Regions from separate parts of the Homo sapiens genome. Here regions 1 and 3 are each linked to region 2. Evidence: promoter capture Hi-C in human tissues and cell types (Jung and others, 2019). All regions are on one chromosome and are shown on one strand. Each heading gives the region's core, a stretch centred on a gene start or on the middle of the fragment in contact. The rest is flanking DNA. Distances are from core to core; before and after follow the strand shown.

What was found. Contacts are between HindIII fragments. The study calls those that stand out against the background at their distance.
Region 1: a contact is called between a fragment that was not itself captured here and the fragment with the promoter of ZBTB7C in region 2, in 2 of the 25 tissues and cell types used here (liver and mesendoderm cells).
Region 3: a fragment that was not itself captured here is called in contact with the fragment with the promoter of ZBTB7C in region 2 in 2 of the 25 tissues and cell types used here (dorsolateral prefrontal cortex and thymus).

The regions. Positions count from the first base shown.
Region 1 is chr18:48,277,320-48,280,462 of GRCh38, forward strand. All of the region lies in intron 2 of ZBTB7C (zinc finger and BTB domain containing 7C), which reads right to left. Among named protein-coding and RNA genes, the nearest start is that of ZBTB7C-AS2, 27 kb to the left of the region's middle. The HindIII fragment of the contact is 4,548 bases long and covers 1-3,143 here.
Region 2 is chr18:48,408,117-48,411,238 of GRCh38, forward strand. It overlaps ZBTB7C (zinc finger and BTB domain containing 7C), which reads right to left and starts at 1,267. Exons shown (of 5, transcript NM_001318841.2): 1 at 1,110-1,267. RefSeq lists enhancers at 1-167, 168-785 and a silencer at 2,056-2,435. The HindIII fragment of the contact is 7,054 bases long and covers 1-3,122 here.
Region 3 is chr18:48,170,390-48,173,892 of GRCh38, forward strand. The region is part of intron 3 of ZBTB7C (zinc finger and BTB domain containing 7C); the gene reads right to left. All of the region lies in intron 2 of ZBTB7C-AS1 (ZBTB7C antisense RNA 1), which reads left to right. Among named protein-coding and RNA genes, the nearest start is that of ZBTB7C-AS1, 9.4 kb to the left of the region's middle. RefSeq lists an enhancer at 1,778-2,278. The HindIII fragment of the contact is 8,757 bases long and covers 1-3,503 here.

The DNA.
Region 1 (3,143 bases), core at 573-3,072, 130 kb before region 2:
TCAAAAAGTGGGCGAAGGACATGAACAGACACTTCTCAAAAGAAGACATTTATGCAGCCAAAAAACACATGAAAAAATGCTCATCATCACTGGCCATCAGAGAAATGCAAATCAAAACCACTATGAGATACCATCTCACACCAGTCCTAAGCTTTCTCTAGGATTTTCTGTCCCAAATAAAAGTGCAAAATAAATAGCTATTTCACTTAGATTTTGAGAATTTAAACTTCACAGCTATTCTAAGGAAGGCTAGAACAACTAATACGCTGCTTAACCATGTGCAAGGTGCACATTTTATGGCTGCATCATGAAGGGCAACCCCGGCTGGTGAGGACACACCAAAATGTGGGAAACGGGCACTTGGGTTCAGCCGGCTTCACAGTCACGCTGGAGGCTCCCACAACAGAAATCACAAAACATTCCCTCGAGTGCTAAATTTGTAGACAAACATAGTGGTTTATAAGGAACAACAGAGTTCTAGGATTCATCATCTATAGCCACAAAAATACCACATGAGCTTTTTTTTTTTTAAATCGACCCCCTTCCTTTGCGCCAGATAGCAGGTAGCAGCCCCTCTCTTTGAGGATGCAAGGGGGAGGAGGGATTGGAGTGGGAGTAGGGTGAGGTAAAGAGGGACAGGCTCAGAGGTGACAATGGTGAGAAGAAAACCAGCAATGGAGGTGACGGATTATTTCCTGTGATAGACTATTTCCAAAGACAGCCACAGCAATCTCCTATCAAAAGGTGGGTTATGTTTCCCTCCCCCTGAATCTGGACTGGCCATGAGGTTTGTTCTGACCAACAGAATGTGGCACCAATGACCTTCTGGGCTTGACGTGATCTTGCAGCTTCCACTTTGCAGAGGCAGGTTCCTGCCACATGCAAAGAAATCAGGCTGTTCTGCTACAGAGAGAAGCCACAGGAGAAAGAGGCCCCAGAGAATGAGGGGCCATGCAGAGAGGACTAGGCCATGTTCAGAAGGACTGAGGTTCCCAGTCAAGAGCATCTCCAAGGCCCCAGACATGGGAGTGGCACCATCTTGGATCGTCTATCCCCAGTTGAGTAACCCAAGTAGAAGAGAGAAAAGCTGTCTCCACAGAATCCTCCCCAAATTCTTTTTTTTCTTTTTTTTTTTTGAGACAGTCTTGCCCTGTCATCCAGGCTGGAATGCAATGGTGCGATCTTGGCTCACTGCAACCTCCGCCTCCTGGGTTCAAATAATTCTCCAGCCTCCTGAGTAGCTGGGATTACAGATGCCCACCACCATGCCCAGCTAATTTTTGTATTTTTAGTAGAGACAGGGTTTCACCACATTGGCCAGGCTGGTCTCGAACTCCTGACCTCATGATCCACCTGCCTCAGCCTCCCAAAGTGCTGGGATTACAGGCATGAGCCACCGCGTCCAGCCATCCTCCTCAAATTCTGACCTATATGATCATGAGCAAATAGTTGCTTTAAGCCAGTATATTTAGGGCTGGTTTGCCACGTGGCAATAAACAACCGAAACACCGCCTAACTGCTCTCTGCTGTCAACCAGCTCCTCACAGGCTGTCCCCTCAGGGACTGCAATGGGTTTGTGTTTTGATTTTGTTTCTGGATTTTTCTGTGTTGTTTTGCTTTCTTGTTTTTTTTTTTTTTAATTCATCAATTGGAGAATCTTGCTGGAGACAGTGAAAATTAATTTGAGACAGACAAAGCCCTTAAACTGCCTGGCAGGGGAACTGGTATGCTGGGCACACTGTCACACCTTTGTCACACATACTTAGAAGGAAAAAGTCCATGGAACCAGCTCACCCCAGGGCCCAGAGGGCAGCACCATGGAGACGGTCCCCCCGGCACCCCCACTCCTCAGAACACAGACCCCTGACTGTTCTGTGAGAAAACTGCTCCTGCTCCACCATTAAAACGGAATGCCCTGACATCCAGTACTTACAGGCCTTGGTCTCTTTCCAGTCTGAAGTGACAGGCTGGCAGATCCACCAGCCTGGATGCTCCAGGTTCCCTGCCTCCCTGCAGTCATTTCGTGGTCAACATGGCAAAAAAAAGGGGAGGCAAAAGAGGCCATGCTTATTCACACAAAGCTTCAGGCAAGTCTGGCATCCCCTCACATTTGGCTTTAGGCAGATCCAGTAAGATGTGGCAGCCTTTATCACCATGAATCATGTCCAAACTCCAGTGGGGAAATATCCACCCAAACAAAATGAACACAAAGGACTGCACGGGGCCTGGGGTGGTGGTTCTGTCTTCTGATATTAGCACAGCCTGCCTTTTGCAAGGTAGGAGTCAGACAAGGGACAACCTCCCCAAAATGGCCTGCACTTGGCTGATACTAAAATGAAGGCACCCCCAGTCTTAAGCCTCAGGCAGCTCCCCCACTGAAGCCTCACTGGTGGGAGCTGCGCAAAGCAAGCTTCTTGAGCCCCAGGCTGTCCAGGCTACACATCAGCCCCACATTCACAGAAGCAGAGAGCAGGGGAAGCACTGAACCTGCCTCTGCACTGAGTTTGCCTTGACATCTTCATCTGTATGCAGGATTTAAGAGCCTTGAAGAAAGGGGATGAAGGAAATCACAACGCAGTGGATAAGAGCCAAGATGAGCAGATGCGAGTCATTCAAAAGGGGTTGGTAGGGAGAGGAAATAGGTAGGATGCAAAAGAATATTCATCATTCCACAAATTTTTATTGAGCATCTACTATGTGCCAGGCACTGTGCAAGGTGCTAGAGACAGAATGGTAAATAAGACACATTTGGTTCTTGCCCCAAGGAACTCACCCTACAATTAGAATACGGTGTGGTCAGTGCTGTAGGCAGGAGCACAGCCAAGGAGCATGTATTGGAGGGTGCTGAGTGGAGCCAGCTTGTCAGAGAAGGAGGAGTGGGCAGGAAAGGTACCATGGAGGCTGGAGAAAGTGGGAGCACACTGCAGCCTGAGGGTTTCACCGACTCCCGAGACTTCACCCATAACTGAGGGCACTCCTCGACCCCTCCCTGGACTCCCAAGTTCTTATGTCAGGGCCACTGCATCCATCATTCATTGGATTTGGGCTCCATTCCCATTGGTGTTTCTAAAAACATTGCTTCCCTGAAGGCACTAACCTGCTCAAAAGCCTTCAATGGCAATCCACCACTAACAGAATAAACT
Region 2 (3,122 bases), core at 17-2,516:
CCCATACAGGCAGCGCACGCCACCCACCCCCAGCTCCCCTCGGCCTTGCGCCCGCGCCGCGGAAGGTTGGGTACCAGCCTCCACAGCTTTGCAGATTGCAAAGATAACGGGAGCTGCCGCTTCGCTTTTCTTTGGCTCCTCCTGGCCTTCATCCTAGTAAAACCAGACAAGCAACCGGAAAAACAAAGCAGCACAGCGGCCAGAGACAATTCGCTTTCAACGGAGCAAGAGACGTACACACCTTGAGAGAAGACGCACGCAGTTCCCGTGCGTGTCGCTGGGAACAGACCTCGCACTACCCCGCGCGGCGACAGGCACCGGGCCAGGCTCGGCTTCACTTGTCCGAGGCTTGGAGGAACTGTGTGCGTGCGCCCATTTCCCCCAGCTTCCCGACTTGACAGCAGCAAGGATCTTTGAGTCCTGCATGAGCGACACCTCGGGCAAGGACTGTACTCTGCTCAGATCTCATCGAGAGGTGCTGGATCCCAGCCTTTCCAGCTCATTTTCCAATTTTCAAGAAAAGACAGCGCGAAGTGAGACTGCAAAAGTCCCAGGAAAACGTCACTCACCAAAACGCTCCCGCGCCTTCCAGGCAGAAGTGCGGTAAAACTTTTGGCAGAAACCACCTGTGGCTGCCGACGGGCCCGCCCCGCTCGGGCCCGCAGGCGCCGCCGAGCCCCGGGCCGCACGCGCCCGCAGAAGTTCCTTTCCAGCCCCGCGCGCCACTTCGCTCCGGGCCGCGGTGCCAGCCAGGAGGCGCGGCGCCCGCTCGCTGGCTCGCTCTCCGCTGGCTCTCCCCTCCCTCCTTCCCTCCCTCCCTCCTCCCGCCTCCTCCGTTGCATGGCTGCCGCACGGAGCCCCTGAATAGCCACCGCAGCCCCCCGCCTCCTGCCCACCGCGCGGAGGGCGCCCCTGCTCCAGCCGGCGCCCCAAGGCGCGCGGACCGCCGGCCTCCTAGCAACGGCCCCCGCAATCGCTTTCCGGCGCAGCCCAAGCAAAGCCACCCGCCCGCCGCCCCGCGACCTCCCGAACTGCCTCGGCTGCCGAGGTGCTGTGGAGATCGCGACCCCGGCAGCCGGCGCCCGAGCCCGGCGCGCGAAGCCGCTCACCTCCGCGCGCCGCCGGCCCTGCGCGCCTCCCGCACTTGGCTCCGGGACGCAGTCCTGGCGTCCTCCTTCGCCGCCGGTGTCCGCCGGTCCCTGCGCGCCCGAGCCTCGCCGGCCGCGCCGCTGTCAGAGTCTCGTGGCGGGGCTGCGCCGGCGGGTATGGAGCTGAGCGGCGGCAGCGGGCGAGCGGGCAGCTCCTCCCTCCCCGCGCCGCGCCTCCGCCCTCCCCGCGCCCCGCCTCCCGCGCCGCGGCTGTCAGCCCCGCGCCCCGCGCCCCGCGCCCGCGCCGCCGGCTCGGGGGGCGCACAGGGCTAAAGGGCCCGGATGTGTGCGGTCGCCTGTCGCTCGCGCCCGCCCCCTCCCCGCCGCGCGGCACATGCACTTGCTGCGCCGCAGCCCCCGCCCGGCTCCGCTAATTTCTATTTTGACAGTAACTGTGGCGAGTGGGCGGCGCGGCGGGGGGCGCCCGGGACTGGCGGAGGCTGCGGGCGGGAGTCAGGACCCGACGCGGAGGCGGAGTGGGGGGGCCGGGCACCGCCACCAACCGCTCGGGGCTCCGCGTCTTTTCTCTTTCTTTCCTTTTTTCTCTCTGCCTCCTCCAGGATTTAAAGGGACAGCCCCGGCAGAGGCGAGGGGGCCAGGCGGCCGCCGTTTCTCCGGTCTCCTGACGCCCTCTGCGGCCCGGCCGGACCCGCCCGCACCCCCAGCGCAGGCTTGGGACCGCCGGGTATTTTTAGGTCCACACCCGACCCGGGGCAGCGGTGCGGCAGAGATGGGCTCTGCCGACCCGGGGCAGCGGTGCGGCAGAGATGGGCTCTGCCGCCCCGGCGCACGGCTATTTTTACAGAGTCCGATGGGGGAGGAAATAAAACAACTCGGCAACTGCTTTTCTACCCGAAAGTCGGGAGCAAGGAGTGGGGGCGAGAAGTTAAGTTTCCCAAATGCTCTCGGCACTCCAGCGAGCGCACCAAGACGCCTAGCCAGCACCTGAAACCGCAAGCTTGCCGCACCCCGGGGCGCCGAATCTCAGCGGGCAATCGCGCTCGGCGGCGCTGCGGCCCGGAGTCCCCACCCCTCTGGAGCCTTGGGCCCCGCACTCCGCACCCCACACGCCGGGGAGCAGCCGCTGGCCGCCCGTCACTCCCCGGGTCGGCCTGGAAGGCGGCCTTCCGAAGCGTCCAATCACCGCGCAACAATGCCAACGGGCGGGCCCGGGGAGGGCTTGTCCCCGCCCCGTCCCGCCGGGCCCCGCCCCCTCGGAGTCTGTCGGGGCAGGAGAATCTCGCTGGGACGCCGAGTGCTCAGCGGTGCTGGAAGCCACGAAGGGCCAGTGCGAGGGGAGGAGGAAGGGTCCTGGCCCTGGAGAGGGCGTGAGCGTTCTCGGGCGAGGCGACACTTGGGCAGATGTTCCCTCCAGCTACGGGCCGGGGAAACTCGAGCTGGCTTTGCCTCCTACCTTTTTGCAGTCCACCCCTCTGCGCTCCAGACAGACATAGGAACCCTCGCCCTCCTTGGTAGTACATCGGAGGCAGCACCCTCGCACGTCAGCGGGTCCTCTCCGGGGCTCCTCCCTCAGAAGCGGGAAAGTTTGTCGTCCTCAAACTCCTACCCGGCTGCGCTTATCTGAGGCGCACCTGGCGCCCAGGAGAGGCGAGATGGCGAATCCCGGCCGCCTAGTGCCCATTCTGGCTACGGATTAATAAAAGGGCAGTGGGGCTGCTGCTGTGTCCTTTAATGCTGAAGACACTGGATGACATTTTTTACAGAATTCACAAAAATAAGTTTGTGAACCTTTGGTGCCTCTTCCTAATATCACTTATTGGGATTTTTTTTTAAACCATTTCATTCATTCGTGTAATAAACGCACATTGCAAGATAGTACGTTGGGAGTAGTGAAAACAAGGGAAAACGGGCTCTGGAATAGGATGTAAGAGTGGAAAACTAGATATGAATAGAGGGATCTGAAACGTAGGGTTTGGGTACAATTATGTCACGTTTAATTTGCCAAAGAGATCT
Region 3 (3,503 bases), core at 161-2,660, 240 kb before region 2:
GAAGGATGCGCAGACTGAGGTGAGAGCTGGGGTCTCTGAGATCCACCCACCTGCAGAAATGCTGGATTTGAGGGGAGGCAGAGAGGCATCATGAACACAAAGAAAGTTCCCACCCAGAGGAGCTCACCAAACCCGGGGCAGCCTCAGGGATGAGCATTTTCAGACATGTTCAGGAAGACATGGCTGGGATGTTGGATTAGGGGATGGGGCCAGCCCTCCCACTGGTCCTCAGACCTTTAGAGGAGGCCAGGAGGAGAAAAAGAGCCATTGACACCTTAACAGAGTAAGCAGGTACTCTTGGGAGATCCCCTCCACACCTATGAAGTCATTCAAAGCCTGGGATCCGCAGGTGCCTCTCCCAGAGCCTTCCTCAGTTCACTCACCTCACTAGGCCCACCCCACTCCTCTGCACCTGTCCCCTCTGCACTGACAGATGACCGAGAACCCCCCGCCCCTGTACGACTGCAGAGGCCTCTGTGGTTGCTGTCCAGGCCTTTCATGGGAGTGTGGTGCCTTCGCCAGGACTAGCCCTCCCCCTGCCCCACAGGGCAGGGACCCTTCACTTTCTGATCCCACAAGGAGCTGTGCCCTGGGTTCTGCCTATAGCCTACACTCAACTGTCTCTTACCAGCCACCTACCTGAAAGTGGGGCATTAGAATCTGGAACCTAAGGTTGGTAGGTCCCAATCTGCTGGACCTGGACTCAGAGACTCCCTTGGCAGTAGAAGAAGATGGCACCAGGTCTCACTTAACTCTTTCTCTGGCCCTGCCTGAGCCTTGGAGCCCCATGGTCCAGTGCTCACAGGCCTGGCCCCAAGTTAAACAAGAGGACAAAGCCCAGCTTGTGGCTTCTTCCCCGAGCTGGCTGATACCTATTTTCCCTAAAGGAGGAATCCAGGCTGGCTTTGGCCATCTCACCCCCTCCTGGAGAGCAATGGGCATGCCACACTGGGCACTCTTTGAGGTCAGGCACTCAGCCTTCTTTCTTCTGAATTCCTCTCTCCTTCCAGCCCTCACTTCCCCTACCTAGGCCAGGCCCTTCACTCTAGGAAGAATATCCCAGGAATCATCCATCACCAAATTCTAGGAGCTGATCTCAGCAACTATGCGGCTGGAAGGAGCCTGGAAAATCCACTGTGCCCATGATGGGAATGACCATTAATGCCTGGAGGGCAAGGATGCTGTACCCATTCCTGCAGCCCCAGCCCCAGCACAACCCAGACAGAGGGCTCTCAGCAGAGGCTTCCGGAACTGTGCTTGAGTCCTAGCTTGCTGTCTCCATGGCTGCCCTGGAGGCTGGCCCAGAGCAGGCACACAGTAGGCATCTGTGAATGAAGCAACAGGTGCCTGCCGGGTCCTAGCTCCTGGGCTGGGCACTCTGACTACTTTATGTGGGGCAACAGCCCTGCAAGGTAGATACCATCATCCTATTGAATGGATGAGAAAATGGAGGCTCAGACAATTTAAGTGGCTTCCCTGAAGCCACTTGGCAAGTATCAGGCCAGACTTCAAGCTTAATCCTTCCAGTCTCTGAAGACTGTGGTCTTTCTGTTTTCATGTCAGCCACTCAGTCCACGCATTTGGGGATTTCAAAGTCGAATAAGAAGTAGCTCCAGCTCTTGGGTGGTTCATACTGAAAGAGGCAGACAGTTTTGTTCACAGCTACCTGGGACAAGAAACAGACGTGGCCAGGCCTGCACCCAAAGCTGAAACCTATTGTGTAGGCTGCAGGCAGAGGAAGAAGGTCACTGTTCCTCTGTAGTTTGAGAAAGGTATCTGGGAAGAGGTGGCAGTGGATTCGGCCACAGACAGGACATGATGAGGCTAAGGACGCATTGAGGATGGATTTTAAGCTAGTGGGAAGATGGGTGGGAAGATGGGTCTGCATCAGGGGCTTCCCAGTGCCCTTAAATGTCATGATGGCCCGTCAGGCAGCCATTTGCACAGCTTGGTGGAGCAGGCAGGGGGGCACGGAGGGCTGGCGGCTGGGAATCTGCCCAGGACCTGTTAGGTTTCTCAGCCGGAGCTGCAGGCCTGAAGCAGGTAGAAGGGTTGGGAGCTGGGAGCGGAGTCTGTGTGCCCTGTCTCCATGAGTGTGTCTGGGAGATTCGGGTGACCTCCTGGCCTCCATCAGTGGGAGCTGGGGGAGAGGGAGACCAGCGAGCTCTGAAGGACGCACCCGCCACATCGTTGCACACTTATTTTTCCCAAACACTTGACTGACGTGACCCACGGGGCCACAGGGAATGGCCTTCACTGGGCTGGCAAGTCGAGGGCAATGATAGCCCTCAGTTCCTTGGGCGGCCCCTCCCTCAGGGAGCTGGCCCGGGGCGAAGAGGGCCTTGGACTTGCTGCTCTGTCCCAGGCCAGCCTGCCACAGTAGGGGTGGGAAGGGCCGCCTGGTCCTGTCTGCTTCTCGCTTTTTCTGTTTTCAGGGTCAGCACAGTTCAGGGAGGAGACACAGACTGTCGGGAAGGCCTCCTGCAGAGACAGAGGAGCACAGGCACTGTCTAGGGGGTGGTGGGAGGGGACTGTGGGGTGGAACAGCAGCCTCTGGCACAGCCATGAACTCACTGCAGAGTAACTCACTGCAGAGCCTTCCCAGGCCTTGGTTTCTGTTCTGAGAATGGAGGCCTTGGAGCAACTTGAAAGCTCCGACTTTCCTCTAGTTCTTGAACATGCCATCTTCCTCTTCCCAAGATGTTGCCAGACAGGAGTGGACAGTTAGTTTACTTCAGGTTTTGCTAATTTTCTATTCCTACATTGTGATTTGAACAGTTCTGCTGTTAGACCCAAAACCTGATTAAGAAAATCAGTAGATCCCCTCAAAGTCCAAGAAACTCATGATGATTAAGCATCCACTCCACATCAGGCCCCACGCCAACTGAAAAGGTTTATGTGGATTATCTCATTTAATCTTGATATTAACTCTGGGAAGTGGCTGTTATCATCCCCATTTCCCCCAGTTTGGCATAATTTCTTAAAGTCCTGCAGTGGTTTCCCAGGACCTTCAGGATAAAATCCAAACTCCTCCCAGCCCACCCTTCTAGCACCGCACCACTCCTAACTGGGCCAGTCCCTCATGGATGGACTGCTTCTCCCACACACAGTCTCAGGGCCTATGATACGTCCCCCCTTCCCATCCATTCAACTTGTATCTTTCCAAGGCCTGGCAAATCCTTCTCTCCAAGGAAGAGTAGGCAGTAGTGGGAGGCAGGTGAGGCCCTAGGGCACCACATTTAAGGAGGCACTCACTGTCAGGTGCCAGGCCTGCACTTGCATGCTCCTGAGAGTGAGCACCTCCTTAAATTTTACACTGAGTGCCTCACTTGCCTCATCCTTGTCCTGGCCCTGCCCCAGAGACTCAATGCCCAACCCAAAGGACCTCTCCCTCCTCCAAAGTCCACAGCCCTTCCTGGTAGGTCCTGTCACTGGACTGTGTCACGGGGACTGATCTTGATGCCTCGTGTGAATGTCCATCACTACAGGGCAGACACCACTTG